Linked DNA regions of Homo sapiens: all the other regions are linked to region 3. The links are contacts of gene promoters, found by promoter capture Hi-C in blood cells and fetal thymus (Javierre and others, 2016). All regions are on one chromosome and are shown on one strand. The core of a region is centred on a gene start or on the middle of the fragment in contact, and the rest is flanking DNA. Distances in the headings are between cores, read along the strand shown. Region 1 overlaps LOC124901744 (a long non-coding RNA gene). Region 2 holds the start of LEP (leptin). Region 3 holds the start of ARF5 (ARF GTPase 5). Region 4 holds the start of IMPDH1 (inosine monophosphate dehydrogenase 1). Region 5 holds the start of HILPDA (hypoxia inducible lipid droplet associated). Region 6 has its middle 5.3 kb from the start of MIR129-1. Region 7 overlaps PRRT4 (proline rich transmembrane protein 4).

What was found. Contacts are between HindIII fragments. The CHiCAGO score rates a contact against its expected background, and 5 or more counts as called.
Region 1: a contact is called between a fragment that was not itself captured here and the fragment with the promoter of ARF5 in region 3, in 1 of 17 cell types (neutrophils). The highest score is 7.8, in neutrophils.
Region 2: a contact is called between the fragment with the promoter of LEP here and the fragment with the promoter of ARF5 in region 3, in 4 of 17 cell types (neutrophils, monocytes, erythroblasts and 1 more). The highest score is 10.7, in neutrophils.
Region 4: a contact is called between the fragment with the promoter of IMPDH1 here and the fragment with the promoter of ARF5 in region 3, in 1 of 17 cell types (fetal thymus). The highest score is 5.4, in fetal thymus.
Region 5: the fragment with the promoter of HILPDA here is called in contact with the fragment with the promoter of ARF5 in region 3 in 2 of 17 cell types (fetal thymus and non-activated CD4 T cells); the score reaches 9.0 in fetal thymus.
Region 6: a contact is called between a fragment that was not itself captured here and the fragment with the promoter of ARF5 in region 3, in 2 of 17 cell types (naive B cells and endothelial precursors). The highest score is 6.7, in naive B cells.
Region 7: a fragment that was not itself captured here is called in contact with the fragment with the promoter of ARF5 in region 3 in 5 of 17 cell types (fetal thymus, neutrophils, total CD4 T cells and 2 more); the score reaches 9.4 in fetal thymus.

What each region holds. Positions count from the first base shown.
Region 1 is chr7:128,218,700-128,221,399 of GRCh38, forward strand. All of the region lies in intron 1 of LOC124901744 (a long non-coding RNA gene), which reads left to right. Among named protein-coding and RNA genes, the nearest start is that of MIR129-1, 12 kb to the left of the region's middle. The HindIII fragment of the contact is 935 bases long and covers 847-1,781 here.
Region 2 is chr7:128,239,736-128,242,595 of GRCh38, forward strand. LEP (leptin) reads left to right here and starts at 1,543. Exons shown (of 3, transcript NM_000230.3): 1 at 1,543-1,571. RefSeq lists promoters at 1-1,571, 1,325-1,571 and a cis regulatory region at 1,489-1,497. The HindIII fragment of the contact is 7,258 bases long and covers 1-2,860 here.
Region 3 is chr7:127,586,967-127,589,666 of GRCh38, forward strand. It overlaps ARF5 (ARF GTPase 5), which reads left to right and starts at 1,445. Exons shown (of 6, transcript NM_001662.4): 1 at 1,445-1,599; 2 at 2,117-2,197; 3 at 2,519-2,628. The coding sequence starts at 1,533. All of the region lies in intron 1 of LOC105375490 (a long non-coding RNA gene), which reads right to left. RefSeq lists enhancers at 266-892, 893-1,518, 1,519-2,145, 2,146-2,700 and a silencer at 1,282-1,771. The HindIII fragment of the contact is 7,240 bases long and covers 1-2,700 here.
Region 4 is chr7:128,408,607-128,411,306 of GRCh38, forward strand. It overlaps IMPDH1 (inosine monophosphate dehydrogenase 1), which reads right to left and starts at 1,376. Exons shown (of 17, transcript NM_000883.4): 1 at 1,150-1,376; 2 at 835-878; 3 at 683-746. The coding sequence starts at 1,295. RefSeq lists a silencer at 903-1,522 and an enhancer at 1,793-2,032. The HindIII fragment of the contact is 8,032 bases long and covers 1-2,700 here.
Region 5 is chr7:128,454,361-128,457,230 of GRCh38, forward strand. HILPDA (hypoxia inducible lipid droplet associated) reads left to right here and starts at 1,518. Exons shown (of 2, transcript NM_013332.4): 1 at 1,518-1,663; 2 at 2,841-2,870. It also overlaps the pseudogene EFCAB3P1. RefSeq lists enhancers at 1-252, 1,161-1,330 and a silencer at 1,431-1,570. The HindIII fragment of the contact is 2,271 bases long and covers 1-1,567 here.
Region 6 is chr7:128,201,113-128,204,020 of GRCh38, forward strand. No RefSeq gene overlaps it. Among named protein-coding and RNA genes, the nearest start is that of MIR129-1, 5.3 kb to the right of the region's middle. The HindIII fragment of the contact is 2,166 bases long and covers 453-2,618 here.
Region 7 is chr7:128,348,796-128,351,495 of GRCh38, forward strand. It overlaps PRRT4 (proline rich transmembrane protein 4), which reads right to left. Exons shown (of 6, transcript NM_001174164.2): 6 at 1,530-2,700. The coding sequence ends at 2,061. Among named protein-coding and RNA genes, the nearest start is that of RBM28, 6.2 kb to the left of the region's middle. The HindIII fragment of the contact is 5,699 bases long and covers 1-2,700 here.

The sequences.
Region 1 (2,700 bases), core at 64-2,563, 630 kb after region 3:
CATGCATTGCACGTGAGGATGGAGTAAAACTTTGTTGTTGTAAGCCACCAAGATTTTCAGGCTGCCTATAACTGCAGCACAACCTAATTTTGTGCTGTCTGATGCCATGTTTTATATAACATGGTAGTGTAGTAGAAAAATGTGAGCCTTAGAGTTTAAAATGCTGGGCACGATGTCTCACGCCTGTAATCCCAGAATTTTGGGAGGCCAAGGTGGGAGGATGGTTTGAGCCTGGGAGTTCGAGACCAGCCTGGGCAACATAGTGAGACTCCATTTTATTTTACTTTTTAAAAAAATAAAATAACAATTTAAAAAATAGAGATTAAAAGACATGAGCTAAAACCTAAACACTCACTGACTGTGAGCAAATCTGTTAGCTTCTTTGAGTCTCAGTTTCTTCATCTATAAAATGGCACGATGTTTTTATTAGGTTCGGAAATAATATTTAAAAATATCTAGCACAGGATTTGGCACATAGTAGATGCTCAGTTACAATGATTATAATTTCATGTATTCCTCAAAATAATACTATGAGTAAAGAGAGGGTATGGGTGTAAGAGAAAGGATAGTCATTACTGATGTTTCAAATGCCGTCATACACTATGGAGAACACTGACCAGGGACCCCAAGGGTAGGGGAAGGTTTGAAGTCATCTGTGTCCACCCTCCCCTGAACTCAGAGAAGTCCTAGAAGGGAGAGAAGGCCTGAAGACACCATTTACAATTTAGCCTTTCCACTGCCAGAGGAAAAGCAGATTCTACTTATGGTAGTGACTATTGACACCTTCAGCATATAAAATAAGAATATAGCAGTGGAGTGAGTTAGTGTCCCTGTTAGTTTCACTGAAGCTTGTTATCCTAGCAAAGCGCCAGCCAAGGTCTTTCCCAAAGGCGCAATGAACTAAACTCTTCTCTGAAATCAGCTTATTAGTATTATCATGACCACTTCAGCTAGCTCACCCAGGACCTGGGAATGAGCTGGAGAGTGAACTACAGAGGAAGGGAGAGAAAGAGAATATCCTCAAGGCAGCAGGGGATTGAGGGGTCCTTTGTCTCCTCCTGCTTCCCAGCAAGTCTTGCCTGATGGAGGAACAAGAGCAGTCAGAGGACGGGGTGGGGAAATTCCAATTCTGTGTGTCCTTCCTTCACCATGCCAGCTGCTCTGGAAACCTCCAGTTCCAGGTCAGATGCCTGCTGCAGTTCCCACTTATATTTAATTTGGTAGAGTATATCTCCTCCAATCCCAGTTTTCTCCAAGGTCTGCTCCCAGATCATCGTTTGCCTCTTAAATACCACATCCTAGCCATGAACTTGGAATTCTGAACATTCAATGGCCTGCCCCCTTGGAACGCCTCAATTCTGCCTCTGGGATGAAAGTTCCTTGCACGTTTTCACACACATGGAGTGCAGAGAGTCACTGAGGACCCAAGGAGAACTTGAACATCACCTTGACCACCTGTCATCAGCAGGAAGTCAGGCTGGAAGCACTTGTTGAAGCCCCCACAACCTTTGGTGAATGAAAAATAGAGATGTTCCATTCCAGACAAAGCACTGCATGCTTGGGCAGCTGTTCCACCTGCCACCAATCCAACCCGGATTTGCTCTTCACTGACTTTTCACTTTTCCACGCAGACCAAGACCCCATGAAAATGCCCATGGCCAGTGGGGTGACTGATTTCCAGCAAATGTGTGGTCCTTCTAAATTGGGGAGGTTTACCAGAAGCATGTATTAGATGAACATGGATTTGTGACCTGTGCTCAGGTCCCTGTTAGTTTCACTGAAGCTTGTTATCCTAGGAAAGCACCAGCCGAGGTCTTTCCCAAAGGTGCAATGAACTAAACTCTTCTCTGAAATCAGCTTATTAGTATTATCATGACCACTTCAGCTAGCTCACCCGGGACCTGGGAATGAGCTGGAGAGTGAACTACAGAGGAAGGGAGAGAAAGAGAATATCCTCGAGGCAGCAGGGGATTGAGGGGTCCTTTGTCTCCTCCTGCTTCCCAGCACAGCTTTAAACCCTGTGCTCAGGGTTTAAAGCATGGCGAGAATGGAAACCGGATGGTGAGATTGAGTCCTGGTGGGGCTAGTTGACTTCATTTTGATCAAGATCACAGATTTTACCCCTGACCCAGATTAAAATCTATAAAATGGGCTTTTGTGACCATGAGAGACACAAGCAGTGACGTGCAGGAGCAGACTTATAGTGGCTTGTGAGAGCCAGGTGTAAAATATTCTGGAGCTTTGTAAGCCAATTTTTAAAATCATTAGTAGCTTGAAATCTATCGTGGTGCAAGTATTTATACCATGGAAATTGGTAAACCCCTACAAATCGGGGTTTCTCTTCCTCCTTCCCTCCTCCTCCTTCTTTGTGAGAGCTAGTTTACCAAGGCATGTGTGTCTTCTCGCAAAACCATTCTTTCATTGGAAAAACTATTCCAGATATGGGATCAGGGGAACAGTTTTGTATATGGGAAGAACATAGCTCTCTGGAATCACAGACAGCTTTGAGGACTCAAAAAAAAAAATCAACAACCAACTTTTAACATTGATAGAAACTTTGATTAGATAGGGAGTTGTGGCTTCAGTGACTGTGCTGAGATTTTAAATTTAAAAGATCTTGCTGAAGTGAAAATTACATGTAAATGTTGGGTTGTATAGCACTGTAGGAGTCTGTAAAAAGAGCTGTAGTAATGTTCTGTA
Region 2 (2,860 bases), core at 293-2,792, 650 kb after region 3:
TATCTGGTGCCCAACGTGGGATACTGAGATTACAAGCATGAGCCACTGCATCTGGCCTCTTCTTTTGATTTTTTTTTTTCAAACTTTTACAAATGTAGAAACCATTCTTAGCTTTTGGGCATTACCAAACCCGGCAGTGGCAGGCTCGGTTCACCAACGTCATTTGCAGTTCCCCGCTTTATGTTATGGGTTTTGTTTTGTTTTGTTTTTTTTATTGAGACAGAGTTTCACTCTTGTTGCCCAGGCTGTAGTGCAATGGTCTGATCTTGGCTCACTGCAACCTCCACTTCCCAGGTTCAAGCCATTCTCCTGCCTCAGCCTCTCAAGTAGCTGGGATTACAGACACTCACCACCACACCTGGCTAATTTTGTATTTTTAGTAGAGATGAGGTTTCACCATGTTGGCCAGGCTGGTCTCGAAATCCTGACCTCAGGTGATCCACCCACCTTGGCCTCCCAAAGTGCTGGGATTACAGGCTTGAGCTACCACGCCTGGCTGGGTTGGTTCTCAATGGAGTGGTTTGTTTTTGGAGCTGCTCTGCGCAGTGGGGACCAGAATAGGCCTGGGTTCCTAGCCCATTGCTATTCCTTACCAGCTGTGGATTCTAAGGAAAGTCATTTAACCTCGCTGGACCTTAGATTCCTCATCCCTGAAGCCCAAGGGTAAAACAAAACAAAACAAAACAAAACAAACCAACCCATCATGTAAAGCGGGGAACTACAAACGATACAGGTGAAACATGCCTACCACACCACTCACAGGCTATGATGACAAAAACGTGGCTACATCTGGGACCACCCCCCAACCCCCACTTTGTACGTAGGAAATACGGAGTTGAGGATGGAGACCCACAGTATGTCCAGAGTGTCCCCAAAGGCCACAGTGCCCGCCTGGAGCCCTCCAGAGAGCGTGCACTCCCTGGGGTGCCAGCCAGAGACAACTTGCCCTGAGGCTTGGAACTCGATTCTCCGCGTGCCAGAGAAGGGGTGGGACTTCAGAACCCCCAACCCCGCAATCTGGGTCGGGGAGCCTGGCGCACTGCGGGCCGCTCCCTCTAACCCTGGGCTTCCCTGGCGTCCAGGGCCGTCGGGGCCGAGTCCCGATTCGCTCCCACCCCGAAGCCGCGCCAGGACCAACGAGGGCGCAGCCGTATGCCCCAGCCCGCTCCGCGGAGCCCCTCACAGCCACCCCCGCCCCGACCGCGCCCCGCGCGGCTCGAAGCACCTTCCCAAGGGGCTGGTCCTTGCGCCATAGTCGCGCCGGAGCCTCTGGAGGGACATCAAGGATTTCTCGCTCCTACCAGCCACCCCCAAATTTTTGGGAGGTACCCAAGGGTGCGCGCGTGGCTCCTGGCGCGCCGAGGCCCTCCCTCGAGGCCCCGCGAGGTGCACACTGCGGGCCCAGGGCTAGCAGCCGCCCGGCACGTCGCTACCCTGAGGGGCGGGGCGGGAGCTGGCGCTAGAAATGCGCCGGGGCCTGCGGGGCAGTTGCGCAAGTTGTGATCGGGCCGCTATAAGAGGGGCGGGCAGGCATGGAGCCCCGTAGGAATCGCAGCGCCAGCGGTTGCAAGGTAAGGCCCCGGCGCGCTCCTTCCTCCTTCTCTGCTGGTCTTTCTTGGCAGGCCACAGGGCCCCACACAACTCTGGATCCCGGGGAAACTGAGTCAGGAGGGATGCAGGGCGGATGGCTTAGTTCTGGACTATGATAGCTTTGTACCGAGTTCTAGCCAGATAGAAGGTTACCGGGAGCTGGGGAGCGTTGGATTTGCTGCTGGGCTGTGCCGGTGCCCAGAAGGCAGGACCTTGCAGAACCAGCCAGGTCCCTGGGAGACTGTCAGACCCACCAACCTGGTGGCATTCGCAGAGCTGAGATGCATTGGAAATTGCCTTGGGCACATCCCCAAAGATCAGGATGTCCCACCCCAGTCTGAAGGAGATAAAGTTGGGGGTAGGAGAGACGCAGATGCAAGTGATCAGTCTCAGTCCCAGACATTGCCTTGCTCTGCGGGTAGGAATTCAGGATTCATTTTCCAGGGAAGTTCCTGACCTCTGAATGAGAGGGGCTGTGTAAGGCCAATGCCTGGGAGGAAGGCAAGGATGAGTAGAGGTGGGGGGAAACAAGTGTCAGGAAGACTCAAAATCTTCCAGAGAAATTGTGCAGGGTCTTACCAGATCTGTCCTCAAAGCCATGCAAATTGCCTTCTTTGCAATGCATACAATGAGGTGTCTCTGGGGGTCAGAACTGGTTATTAGGGAACTTCTAGCCAGGACTGCTAAATACGCGCTGTTGGCCCACCAGGCTCACCTATAGCCTTCCTTCAGTCTGGGCTTGGTTTGGATTTCACTGTGGGTGCCATCGCCTTTACACTCCTGTTTCTATAGTTTAAAGATAGTGGTGCTTTGGGAAAGTGACTCCTTAAATACAGTTAGGTCCAAGTGAGACAAGTGGCCTGGCTGTCATTTCAGAATAGCAGCTTCCAAGAGGTGATTAATTTCTGTTGGAAGGGTGATCTTTGGGGAGGTGGGTGAAGAGCAGAGACTTGGTGGTACCGTTCCAGGAGCACAGGCTCTCTTCCTTTGCAGTGCAGAATGACCTCTGGCAGCCGGAGTTGTGTTTGTTCTGTAGGATTCTGAGGTGGGCCATGGGCAGCTGGAACTGGGGAATTTTGCCAATCTCTTTCATATTAGGATTGTCTGCAGAACCAGATATGGAGGCTTCTAGCAACGTGAGTGCTCCTGTTCTAATGCCCTTAGAAACAAGAAGGCCACACTGATCATTTCTCTCACTTAGGCAGGGAGACAAGGCAAGAGAGAAACAGTGGATGCTTTTAGGTTCTTTCCCTTCCCAAGCAGTTGTGGA
Region 3 (2,700 bases), core at 195-2,694:
AGTCTATGACTGAAGAGAAAAGGAAAGTCATTCACTCACTCATACCTGTTTCCCAAAGTCTGTCCTTGTTACAGACTTTGCAGATCAGGATGGGGCAGGCCCTGGAGGTCTGTTCAGACCCCGTTTCTCAGTGGCCCAAATAACATCAAGCTGTATTATACATAACATTCAGTCACATTATCAAATCATTTTAAGATTCACCATAACCCCTTAAGTTAGAACAAGTCTCATTTTATAGATGATGAAATAACGGAAGAGTTATGAGGAGTGCTGAAGCCAAATCCTCAAGAAATGGCAGAATTAAGATTTGAACTAAAGCCTGAAATCACGTGCTGGCAAGTGGTGGGTGCTCAGTAAATATCTGCTGAAAAAGCAAATGAATGAGTGAAGGTTTTTTTATTCCCAGCTCAGTTTACCTCGAGTCCATAAACAATTGATCCTAGAAGCCCACTGGGAATCCAGAGTAGACATAACACCTACCCTCGCTCCATTGAGAATCTATCAGTCCAGTTCAACTGAACAAGCATTTGTTAGGCCTAATAATGCCTGGCAATGAGCCAGTCTCCACCGCAGAAGAATTTCATTCCTATTTTGCTATTCTCCTCTCAGATGTTAAAATGAGGCAGGGAAATGACATGTGAAGCTCTTTGGGTCTACGGAGTCAAGATCTTCACAAAATCCTGAATGGATGTGCAAGAATAAGCCAGGTCCACAAGTCTGTGGCAAAGTGAGGAACTTCGGCAAAGCGGCCAGCGCCTGGACTGAGAGGCGGGGCCCGCAGGGCGATCCAAACGAAGGTGGACTTCTCCAACAGCCCAGGAGTGGGTCTGTGACCCCGCCGCCCAAGGCCGGGAATCTTACACTGGTTCTGCGGATTGGGAATTAGGAAGTAGGCGTTTTGAGGAACCATGGAAGCTAGCTAGCACTCGGGCACCTTCCCCTACCTCCCGCGCACTCTTCACACGACCACCTACTACGCGCAAGTCCCTCGGTGGAAGATGAGGCAGTAAAGGGAGGACCAAGACCCCTAATCGCAGCTTCCACTCCCCAAAGGAGAGTGGTGCACACGTTCAGTGCTACTGGTTCCCAAGGGCTAAAACCGGAGCCCCTAGGGGCCTGGACGCAACAAACCAAAGCCCAGCGGCCGGCCACTGAAAATGGGGGCAGGGGCCGCTGCGGAGCGATGAATCCTTTCCTCAGCCGCGCTCGGGCTGCCGGTTCGGCGGCCACAGGCCTGGCAGGCGCGTTAGAGACCTAGACCCGTTCCCAAGTAAGGGCCGCACGGGACCCAGGCCAGCAGCGGCAACTCGCGGAGCTTCAGCTCCCCTAGGAGCCAGAGCCGGGGGAGGCGGGGCCGAGAGCCGGGGGCGGGGCCCGGACGGGGGCGGGCCCGCGGTGACGTCGGGAGGGCAGCGACGCGCGGAGGCGGCGGCGGAGCCTCCTCCTGCTGCTGCTGCGCCCCATCCCCCCGCGGCCGGCCAGTTCCAGCCCGCACCCCGCGTCGGTGCCCGCGCCCCTCCCCGGGCCCCGCCATGGGCCTCACCGTGTCCGCGCTCTTTTCGCGGATCTTCGGGAAGAAGCAGATGCGGATTCTCATGGGTGAGGCAGATCGAGCGCGCGGCCCGGACCGGGGCGCCGGCCCCGGCGCAGCCCTTCCGCCCCCGCGTCCCTCCAGCCCCGCTCACCTGGGTCTCTGGCCCCGAGTCACCCACCTCATAACGCCCCGGGGCCTCTGCTCTCGGGCGGGTCCCGGTCTGCATCGCCGACCCCGGGGCCTGACACCCGGAGCTGCGGGCCTGGGTGGGGTGAAGCTCCCTCCGCCCCAGCCCGGCTGGTAAGAAGGGAGGATTCCGCCCTTGGAGACGACTTTTAAAACGAGCGCGGCCTACCTCCCGTGCCCCTTGCCTCCCAGTCCTCTCCCGCTCCGCGCCCTCTTTGGAGTTGGCTCACGCCACCCGACTGCCCTCCAGGCCTCAAAGGTAGATAACGACGCGCACCTGGAGGCGCTCCCGCTCTCCGCCCCAGTCACCATCAGCTGTTGTGGCCTCTCCCTTTCCCTGGTCTCTAGGGGGCTCCCTCGCTCCCATCTCCATCCCTGTGCCCCTTTCCGTTGCAGTTGGCTTGGATGCGGCTGGCAAGACCACAATCCTGTACAAACTGAAGTTGGGGGAGATTGTCACCACCATCCCAACCATAGGTGAGCCCGGGGACGAAGCAGGGAGCGGGAGCGCCGCGGCGGGCCCTCGCGGGGTCTGCTCCCAGTTCTGCCACTTTTCTGGAGCTGACCCTGACACCAGATACAGCTATTTGAGAAGTGGGTCAGGGTATCTCTACGTGGATACCGGAGGCAGGGTGGATGTGACCTAGCCCCGCCCTGTTGACCGCCAGTTCTGGGGTTCTGTTCCCCTGGGCCTTGATCATTGCCTTCTGGTTTTGTGTCCCTGCTGAAATCTAAGTAGTTTTAGTGAGTTCCTTTCTTTCAGGAGTTTTCTCATCTTTTTTTTCCAATTATCTGCAGGCTTCAATGTAGAAACAGTGGAATATAAGAACATCTGTTTCACAGTCTGGGACGTGGGAGGCCAGGACAAGATTCGGCCTCTGTGGCGGCACTACTTCCAGAACACTCAGGTGGAGTGTTGGGAGGGGACTTTCTAACCCCACGGGAAAAGGTGTTAGGGCTGGGAGAACAGAATTGTTGGC
Region 4 (2,700 bases), core at 126-2,625, 820 kb after region 3:
GATGCAGAAGTGCAATCTGGAGAAAGGATGCACTCACATGGCTCCGGCCTGAGCTCTGAAACATTATGTTTGCAACCCCTACTCTAACCAAGCACTGCCTCTGTCAAGCCCCAACCGGCTCATTCAGCCCCTGTGGCCCCTCCCTATCGCCCTGCGGCCTGAACCCCAGGAGCTGGATTTCTAGGACAGGAGAAAGGCTGGGAGTTGCCTAAGCCTGAGTCAATTCTAGAGAGGCAGCCTGCCAGGACAGGGGGGCCTAACTCAGCAGCCCCACTGCCGAGGAGCCCCTTAAGCCGTTAAAAGTTCTTACATAAGCGGCCAACCCCTGGGCAGAGCTGCCGGGCTAATTCCCCCAGACCACCCCCATCTAACCCAGCTGCCAGGTCACCTCCCCAAGCTGCTGAACACCAGCAGATGGGCAGAGAAAGAAGTCCAAATCCTCTGGACCGGAAGGACAGTGGGATTGCATTTCAAGCTGCGATACAATCCAGAGATTAGCTGCTGTCTCCTTTTCAGCCAGTCCCCCTGGGGCCCAGCTCACTACCCTACTCTTCCTCCAGTGTCCCTCATTCCCCTACAGACCCCAGCATGGGGGCCTGCGTCTTCGGAGAGACCTTGAGGTGAGCTGCACTGGCAGCCTCTCAGATCTCAGTGCATGGTGAGGAGGGGAGAGTGTCCTCACCTAGCCCTGCGAAGGCGATCCATCTGGACACCAACACCTGCCAGTAAGACCACTGAAGATAGTTCTAGGAGGAAACAGCTAAGGAGGGGTAAGCCAAGTCAGTCGGACAGGACTCCAGCAAGCACTGTTTGAACCCCAGGAGTTGGAGCCACCTGAACGGGGTGTCGTCGGGTGTGTAGCGAGGTCCAATCTAGGGCTAAGATTTTAGGGAAGGTTTTTACGACCTGTTCCCTCTCCTCCGCTCCCCCGTGCAACGAAGCACCTAACCCTTCGCACAGTGCCCGTCTGCATCCCCCAACCAAAGCCGGGAGCGTGGCGTTTCGGGAAGTTAGAGGCTGAGGCGGTAATAGGGGAAGGGTTTGTGGGGCCTGCCCCTCCCCCGCAGCGTCGCCGGGTTCCCGGAGCCGCCGCGCCCTCCTCGGCCGCCCGCCCCGGATGCGCCCCGCGCGCTCTGCCCTGGGCGTCACCTCTCGGGCTCGTAGCCGGCCTGCAGCAGTCGGGCGCTGTACCGCTGCGCCGCCGTCTCGTGTCCCGGGTGTTGCCGGGCTCCGGGCTCCGGAACAGCGGCGGCTCCGCCTCCCTGCAGCGGTGGTGGAGTGAGTGGCCCCTCCATGCGGAGGCCGCAGCTCAGGGCGGGCGGGAGCCTGGAGGCTCCCGGGGCCCCGGCTGGGCAGTGAGCGCAGCCCGGTCGAGTCCCGAGGAGGGGCGGGGCCGCCGGGGCGGGGCCTCGTGCCGGGGGCGGGGCAGGGGAATCCGGGAGTCGACTGGGCTCCGCCCTGGGCTCCCCGCTCTCCCCGGCGCTGCTACGCAGATGCCTAGACTCGGTTCGTCTCTCCCATCCCAGATTCAGCGAGGGTACATCGGGGGATGAGGGGGAGAGGTGTCCCTACACGGGTGGGACTGGAAAGAACCCCGTCCCCTTCCCTGCCGTCCGGACCTTCCAGTGTCTCCTGGCCCCTTCCGAGGAAAACCAGAAGAGGAAAGGAGCTGGACTCCAGAGGCAGGGCTTCTCCTTGCGTCTCAGGTCCGCTCCTCTCTTGCACGCCGACGATGCCAGGTCCCCTGGAGCGCCTCATACCCGCAGACCGCAGACCTCCCGCGCTGGGGCGAGAGAGTCGTGCTCAGCCGACTCCACGTTAGAGAGCGGGGAGAGGGATCTCCACAGCCTGTAATCTGCCAGGGAACGAACAGAACAGACAAGGCTGCGGGCTCCTTAAGGAACAGGACCTAGTCTTGCCTCGTTGTGGAGGTACTTTACCTTGTTATGTTACCCCGTAACAAGGGAGTGGGGCAGAGCAGTGTACTCAAACTTGTTTGTCCACTTACTAGAAGGCGCACTTTTTCCTACTGTTATCATTGTGAACGGTGATTGAACACCTAGCAAAAATGGCAAAGAAATGTAAGAGTCCTTGCCCTCAGGCAATTTATTTCAGGAGACAAAGTAGATGAAAATAAACAGCTGATAATTCTCATGCCATATACAGATGGTCCTCGACTTACAATGGTTGACTTAAGATTTTTCAACCTTACAGATGGATTTACCCTGAGGTAGCCCCATCTTTAAGTCGAGAAGAATCTGGAAATTTTATTTTATTTTATTTTATGTTATGTTATTTATTTTTTATTTTATTTGAGACGGAGTCTCGCTCTGTCGCCCAGGCTGGAGTGCAGTGGCGCGATCTCGGCTCACTGCAAGCTCCGCCTCCCGGGTTCACGCCATTCTCCTGGCGCAGCCTCCAGAGTAGCTGGGACTACAGGCGCCCGCCACCACGCCCAGCTAATTTTTTGTATTTTTAGTACAGACGGGGTTTCACCGTGTTAGCCAGGATGGTCTCGATCTTCTGACCTTGTGATCCGCCCGCCTCGGCCTCCCAAAATGCTGGGATTACAGGCGTGAGCCACCGCGCCCGGCGCATCTGGACTTTTGTCTGACAAGTCTGAGGGAACAAATGGTAAACACTGCGTGATTGAGGAGTGCTAAGATGTATTAGGGGTCAGACTTTCAGCAACGATTTCAC
Region 5 (2,870 bases), core at 268-2,767, 870 kb after region 3:
CGCAGCTTGAGACCTATTTAATAACAGTGTGAGAGAAGGGTCACACAGTCAAGCAAAAAAACAGACGAAACTCTGGTATAGCGAAGGACCAAAAGTTCTGCGGGCTGAGCAGGAAAGTTGGCTCCAAATGTCTGCCTGCCTGCCAGCAGACCTCCAGCCCCAACCTTCTGCTTTCCCGGCTTCCCCACCCCCTCATTCCCGACAGACCACAGCCAGCCAGCCAGGAAAGGAGGGGAAAGGTCGCAGTGGGGATGGCTCCTCCCTTCCCGTCTTAGAGCCCTTCTTAAGCAGAGCCCGCCGAGCTCGCTGAGATGTGGAAAGTCACAGGGTTCTTTCCCATCCGGCACGGGCACTTGACCCGGGTACACGGAACCGCCAGTTCTAAAGCCACCAGCGGCCTTCCCTTCCACGGCGTGTACACCCCTTCCCGGGGGTCCTCCCCATTCCCAGTGTCTCTCCGGGACTCTACTTTCTGAGATCCCCCGTTGCGTGCTCTCAAGACAGACCGCACAGTCTTGGCTGGGTGGGTTCGGGGGTGATTAGTAAGGCAGCCTAGCCCCCCAAATCTGGACATAAGGCTGGTCTGTGACCTCCTGGCTCTTTAGTTCAAGCCGAAAGCACCCTTAAAAATCATCTAGCGGCCGGGCGCGGTGGCTCACGCCTGTAGCCCCAGCACTTTGGGAGGCAGAGGTGGGAGGATGGCTTGAGATCAGGAGTTCGAGACCAGCCTGGGCAACATAGCGAGACTGTCTCTATTTAAAAAAAAAAAAGAAGAAGAAGAAGAAAAATCATCTAGTGGCCAATGTCTTCATTACAGATGAGAAAACCGAGGCCCATTTAAATACCAAGTGACTTGCCCATATGCAGTTAGGATCCCACACCAGGGCCAGGAGTATTTCACGTTTTCTGAAGCGACACGACAAACTCTCATAGAAAGCAGAGCTTGCAGAGCTTAATATGTTGCACAAGGGCCTCACCATTCCAGAGATACCGATGGCAACTGAAACTCGGGATTTGGAATCTTGGTACAGCTATGAAGTGAAACAAAACCAGCTCTTCAGTCCTTGAAATGAAGAAAATAACGAGTGGGGTAGGGGTCTGGTGCCCTCTGACAATTTAGTGCACCCGAAATCTCTGGGGAAGAACCCACCCTTCACGGCGGGGCTTCACGGACACGAAGGCCATCGGTGTTTTTCACCTACTGGGGAGAAGGGATATGTGCTCTCTGACTCCTTCAAATGTTTTCTACAGCAGAGATGGCAGTCGAGATTAATACACACGCCTCGTCTCACTCCAGAACACAATGACTCAAAACCGCACGACGTGTACTTTTGGAAACAGCTCCGCGGGAGAGCACCCGGGACAATCCCCAAACCCCGTTGCCCGCGGGGTGGGGCCGCGGACGTGCGCCACGTCGTGTGCGTCCCGGGCGTGCGTGCGGCCTCCAGTGCGCGTGCGCGTACCCTCCTGGGGCGTGCTCGCGGCTATAAGGGGCGGAGGCTGGGCGGCGTTGCTCTGCGCTCTGCGGCTGACGGCGCTTTTGTCTCCGGTGAGTTTTGTGGCGGGAAGCTTCTGCGCTGGTGCTTAGTAACCGACTTTCCTCCGGACTCCTGCACGACCTGCTCCTACAGCCGGCGATCCACTCCCGGCTGTTCCCCCGGAGGTGAGCGGCCCTGTGGGCTTCCCCGGCTCCCCACCCCCATCGCTAGAGTGCTCGCCGCGCTAGCAGCCTCGCGTTCCAGGGCTGGGGGTGCGCCGCCGGGATCCTCTCTGATCGCCCACGCCCCATCTGGGGTCCCCATTCAGCCGTCAGCCCTGTTTTGTCCTAAGGTGGTCCTAACTAGGATCCACGTGGCCCATCCCACGCCCACAGGTGCTGAGTTAGGCATCCCTGCCATGCCCTCCCAGAGCACCTTCACGATCTCCTTGCTGTCCCAACACTTAGCGTGTTGCGTGTTAACTACCCTTTGTCTATAAGGTTTGCAATGTGGCCCTAGTATCTTCCAGGGTACCTAACACATTGCAGATATTCATGGTATGTTTGTTAAATAAATGAACTTGATAGATTTGACCCTCATAGAGTTATTTGGACTTGCAAAAAGTTTGTAGTTAACTCCAATCTGTGATGTGGGAGAGACTTCTAGGCAGGTTCCTTTCTCCAGGGCATGTTCTTATATTTCCCATTACCCACCACCCCCCTGCAAAAGGACTGGGCCTATTTCAGGAAGGTGACTGATGCCTGCACTGTAGCACAGGGGTTGTGTATTGTGCCTTGCAGGAACAAAATTTTCAATAAAGTAAATGTTTGTTTGTTTGTTTTTGAGACGGAGTTTTGCTTTTGTTGCCGAGGCTGGAGTGCAATGGCGCGATCTTGGCTCACTGCAACCTCTGCCTCCCGGGTTCAAGCAATTCTGCCTCAGCCTCCCGAGTAGCTGGGATTACAGGCATGTGCCACTATGCCCGGCTAATTTTTGTATTTGTAGTAGAGACAGGGTTTCACCATGTTGGTCAGGCTGGTCTCGAATTCCTGACCTCAGGTGATCCACCCGCCTCGGCCTCCCAGAGCGCTGGGATTACAGGTATGAGCCACCGCGCCTGGCCTAAGAAAGTAAAAGTTTTAAGAAGTGTTCTTGAATTAGTCCAAGAAGCAACACTGGCTCCGCAGCCATGAAGTTTGCAATGTAAAATATTCTTGGAGAGTTGCTGTGCAACTCCCTGGTCCCTGTGTCCCTCACTGGCTAAGCCTCTCCTTCAGCCCTGTGAGAGGACAGAAGAGTCAGGGCTGGATGCATGCATATCCCCAAAAGGCTATAGATTCATCCTTTCCTCTTTTTTCTCAGGGTCCAGAGGCCTTTCAGAAGGAGAAGGCA
Region 6 (2,908 bases), core at 286-2,785, 610 kb after region 3:
GGGACACCCCCTCCTTTGTGTCTGAAACTCTCCCTGTTTTACAGTTAAAAGGCGTTAGCGCTGGCCTTTGAGACAGACTCACTGAGCCACCCAAGGTCACCCGGGCAGCGGGCACAGTTGGGACTGAACGCAGGGGCTCTACCTGTGCCAGGTGTCCACACCTCGGTGGCGCTCGGCCGCCTGACCTCCTCTTGGAGTTCCCGGCTCAGGGCAGGGGGTCGCGTCCCTGCGGTCTCTGGAGGCCACGCCCCACCCGGGCCCACCGGGGTGGGCGTGGCTACGTGGCTCCCTGGCGCTGAGGCGCCTCCTTCCCAGGTGGGCGGGGCTCCTGCCGGGTCGGTTCCCGCAGGCTGCCCGCGGACCCCAGCCACTTGGCCAGGCTGCAGGGACAGTGCGAGGAGGCGCTCAGCCTGGACCACAGCGGAGGTGTGCAGGACTCAGCGAGGCCCCCAAGCTTGTACGCCTCCTTCCTCCGCCGGCTTCTCTGTCTGCCTCCCACTGTCCCTATTCTGCCCTTCACAGATCGTTGTCATTATCAAGTCCTACACTTTGAGAGCAGAAAACGACCCCGTACGTGGTGGGTCTCCGACATCTGTTTATTACGTTGGACCGCATGCTGCATATGATCCAGCCACCTCGCTCTACTCCTGTGGCTGCCCTTCGTCCTCGTCGCCGGGACCCCTCTCCCTGCCTCCCAGACGACCTGTGCCTTACCCCTTCCTGTCTCTTATATTCTCATAAATTTGCTGCCTCCTCTCCTACGTCCGTCCTTCGGGGTCAGCCTCCATCCATTACCTCTCAGCAGCATTGCGAAGCCTCTGTTTTCTCCCCGACTTGCAGCAGCCTCTCCCTCCTCCAGTCAATTTCGCAGGTTTTTCCCAAAACCTTCAGAGACTGCCCATTGCCTGTAGAGGAAAAGCAGGCTCTTCGCCTGGCACGGACCACCAAGGTTTGCCTGAACATCCTTTCCCACCTTTTCTCTCACTTCTCCCCTTCCTGTGCCTACAAATCAGCCCCTCTGTGTATGTCTCGGCCTTGAGCCTTGGCTTCTGCCATTCTCTCTCCTCCTCCTCCTCGTCTCAGATTAAAACCCCTCCCATCCTTCCCAGCTCAGCTCAAATATTACCTCTTTGGTGAAGCCTCCTTTCCTCCTCCCCTTCACCCCTTTCAGCCTGGAGAATCTTCTTCCCCGGGCCTTGCAGTACTGGGACCCTCGTCCAGTCCCCATGGATGCTGATTTTGCCCCATCATTATTTGTGCTGGTGCCATGGGAAGAAGCGGCCCAGGAGAAAGATCAGGCTCCAGGAGAGGCTGATGCGCTTGCTTCGGGATGTTTAGTTGGAAGGGCTCCGGGCACCCAAGGAGAAATGTCCACACTTCCCTTCTAATCTGGGGGCCCCTGGAGGACAGGGTCTGTGGTGGGCTTGTCTCTACATCCCCAGCTCCCAGCACAGAGCAAGGCGTGCGCAGGCACTCATTGACGTCTGCCAAGCCAACAACTGAGGAGCAGATGTAGGGCCCAGAGGCACCAGCTGCAGGGATTCAGGGAAAGGGATTAAGGTACCAAGGGAAGTTCCAGGAAAGAGGAGAGATTGATCTATCTCCACTCAGCAGGCAAGGGTTTGGATGGGGAAAGGGAGGAGAAGGGTGTATGGCGAAGACTTTCTGACAGAGGAGGAAGGAATTTCTGGAGGAGGGGTGGGAGGTAAGCTGGGACTATGGCTGGGCTTGGGAGGAGGGACAGTGCAGGATCTGGTGGTCCTGTCTGTGCAGAGGGTGCCAGGCAGAAGAGCTGGTGGGACAGGGTGGGGCACACATTTGAGCCAGAAGGAGATCCAACCTCACCACCCTGTGCCCTGTGCGATCTCAGATGCTGGTTGGGGTCCCTCACCCCTTATCCTCTTCAGGGGAGTGGCCTGAGGAAAGTCCTTTTCAGAACCTGGTCCAAAAGCCTGCGTGGGAAGAAAGCGGGAGAGGGAAGCTGAAGACCTCTGTCCATGCGCCAGCTCATGTTTTATGCTTGCCAAGTCCCAGGAGGGACACGGGGAAGGTGGGAATCTCAGCCAAGTACACAGCTTATTCCCGGAGGGGCGACGGGCCACAATCAGGAGGTTGGGCTGGTGAGGCGGGTGGCAGGGGGTCCAAGAGGCTTGTGGAGGCAAAACCTGAGGACTGATCTGAAACAGGGGCAGGGGGAGGAATCACAGTTGGCAGACAGGAGCAAGCCTGTGAGGTATGTGGCTGTGTCCACTGTCCTTGAACAGAGGTGATGGCCAAGGGGACAAGCTGGGACTGAAACCAGCTCTGGCTACGAGCCCGGCCACACTGGCAGGTCTGGGAGAGGGGGCCCCTTTCTCTCATTTGCGCGAAGGGTCTGTTGGGGCTAGTGGGGCCCTGCTTGGGTCCCCTTTTTGCCCTCCCCAACTCCCCTACCCTCCCTTGCCCCTCCTCCTCCCTTTCCTCCTAACAGGCTCCTAACAGGCTCAAAAGCCTGTTTCCCCCTCCCCACTCCCACTTCAGTGAAATGCAGTGAGTTCTGAGGAAAGGCTCCATCTCAGCCATTTTCACCTCCATAGGAAGATGCTTTCTGCTCTGTTTCCTGTTACCTTTGCAAGGAAAGCTTCCTCCCTATTAAGTGGAAGTGGGAGGGAGCAGTTTGGAGGGGTGAGAGTTGGGGGTTTCCTATGGCCCCCTTGTCACTTATAGGGAGAAACCCTCCTACCACGAATGCCTAGACGGGGTCGAGTGTTGGCCAGAAAAGCTCTGGAGGGTTGCTGGTTTGGGAGGAAAGGCTGTGAATTGTTTTCAACAAGCATAGGCTTCTGCAGCAGGAGGACCCACACAAGGGCTGGTTTCTGTTAATGAAGCAACTGGAAATGTGAGCCTCTGACGTCCGAGTCAGCCTGTG
Region 7 (2,700 bases), core at 158-2,657, 760 kb after region 3:
GGACTGCTCTTTCGGGAAGTGTGTGCATGAACCCAAGGACCCTTGTTGGGGAGAGTGAGTGAGAGAGACAGGAGCTGGCAAGGACCAGTGTGAGGAAGAGATGGCATCGAGGAGCTGAGTGTGAGCAGAGGCAGATGAGAGGCAGATAGAAGAGTGAGTGGGAAAGAAAGGGAGCAGTTTCTCAGAGCAGCAACAATCCTTGCATGACACAAAGCAACTCTGATGCTGGGCCCACTGCAGCCACTATGACACCAGTGAGAAATGCCTGTAATTAGGAGGTTGGCAGTTCTCTGGGCCTCAGCCCAGAGTGAGGATGCAGCAAGAATTTCTGAGCCAGGTGATGGAGGAGACGCAATCAAAACCATTCTAGTCCCATCCCTCCACCGCACCGGCACCACCTCCCTCCCATTTCTCTTCCCCACTATGATTCTCTCTCTCCTCCAAACACAACTGATTCTCCTCCTCCATCTGAGGTCCCAGGCCCTGGACGCTCCTCTCAGCCAAGACAGATGTTCATCTGCAAGGAGAGTAGTGCTTGAATTCTTCCACTCCTGCATTGGACCTGGTCTGGCCAAGGGCTCTACCCTCTCCTGGCTTCCCTGCCTGCTTCCCTCTTGGCTCCCAAGCCTCCCTTCCAGTCCCCAGGAGCTGATGGGCAAAGTTGGAAGAAAAAAATCACGAGGTTCCTGTGCTTCCACTTTGAGCCTAGTGTGTATGCTCCTGCAGGTCTCCCTGTGATATGCAGGACAGCTGCCAAAACACTGTCAGATTTTTGTTTTCAAACCTAATCCACAACCCTGTTTTTGTGCTACTCGGAACCACCGCATTTTAGCCAAATGACAAACACACACCACAGAGCGCAGAGCCAAATGCTCCAGGCAAGGGAGGGATTACAGAGTGCCTGGTGGTTGGATGTGTTTGTGGGTCTCTCACTGTGAACTTTGCTACAGGAGCTGGCTGGGCTGGACAGGCTTTCTCCAGGGAGGATCTGCACCTATTAGAGATGAGAGTTCTTCAGGAGAAGGGGGAGGGGGTTGAAGAGCCCCTGTTGGTGGGTGAAAAGGTAGAAAGGTAGTTTCCTCTTTGTGGATCCCAAACTGTGGGAACATGGCAGGGAGGCTGCTGAGGATCCCAGCTCAAGGTGACCAGGACCTTTTACATGCGTCTCAATATTTCCATGAAGGACTTGACTCCTAACTAGTCCCCAGCCAATTGTCTACCAGGACCTGAAGCCAACTCCTAAGAATGCAGGCATTTCCACCAATGACAGTAGAGTTTCTGCCTCACCTCCCAGGGCGATGTCCCATCTCTGTGAAAAGCCACTTCCCAACGATTCAGAAGAGTCTTCAAGGGGCTGCTCCCAGTAACCCCACTCATCCCAGAAACAGGACAAGACTCGTTGGTCTTGTATGAAGGTCCCTGGGGTCTGGAATGGACCCACCCCACCCAAGAGCTGCTTCTCTTCCACTAGTGATGGAATCACTGGTGCTGTTGCTCAATTGAGTTTTCCCAAAAAAGTCAGACCTTGCTCCTCTGAAAATATTTTATTGATAAATTAAGAGCATTCCCCTCCCACCCAACTGCTATAAAGTCTCCTAGATGGGTCATGGACCCCTGTGGGTGTCACATGGAGGAAAGGGAGTCCCATTCACACAGGGGTGGGATTCCTAGGCATGGCAGAGGTGGGTAGGGGGGCCTGAGGCAGGTCCCAGGGTCCTCTGAGGACAGCCCCTCTCACTCAGCACCAGAGTGGGGAGTGGTGGTCAGGAGTGGAGCACCTTGGAGCTTTATTGCTGGTGAATGCCAAGGAAAATGGGACCCCTGCCAACCTAGATTTGCAGCTGAGGGCATCAGCACCCAGGGCTCCAGAGAAGGTGGCACTGATTCCCAATCGATAGAGCCTGGCTGCTGACCCACCCACCCAGGGACCCCTGGATGGGGAAGGAATCTGGAGAGGTATCTGAGCCAGGGAGGATTGGGGAAGGATTACAGTGTGCAGGTCTCGGGCAGGGCAGGCGCCAGAAAGGGGCATATCGCAGGGTAGCAAGGTGGCCACCTCTTCACAGGTCTATGGTGTCGCTGCCCACGCTCAGCTCGTCGATCTGTCGGCAGGCGTCCAGGAACTGCTCCTGCAGCAAGGCCTCCTCGGCCTGCAGCTCAGAAGCAGGCTCTGGGGAGTCGCGAGAGGGTGGGGACAGGGCCTGGTAGGATCCTGAGGCCGGGAGGCTGGGGCTGCTTCCTGAGGGCCGCGGGGGACTGAGGACGCAGACCAGAGGGCAGCGCGGGGGCCTGTCGGGGCTGGAACACAGCAGCATGGACGAGCTGTCCCGCGAGAGTCCGCAGAACGAGCCAGATGAGACGCTGCTGCCTGCGGGCCAAGCCCCAGGGGAGGGGAGCTCCGGGGGCGCAGCGGGGCCAGAGGCCTCCCCTGATCTCTCACTGGCCCTGCCCCCGGTCCCCAGCGAGGCGGTGCGGTAGAGTCCGAGCCCAGGCAGAGCGTCCTCGAAGGCAGGGCCCTGGAAGAGGCCAGGCGCAAGCAGGGCCTCGCTGCAGAGGGCCTCCTCGATGCTGCGTCGCAGGTTGATTGGGGAGGGCGGGCGGAAGTCCACGGTGTAATCGCTGCAGGGAGAGGAAGCCGGGGACGGGGCCGGGTTGGCCGCCGCGCCTTCGAAGCCCCGGCAACCTCCGCCCTGGAGTAGG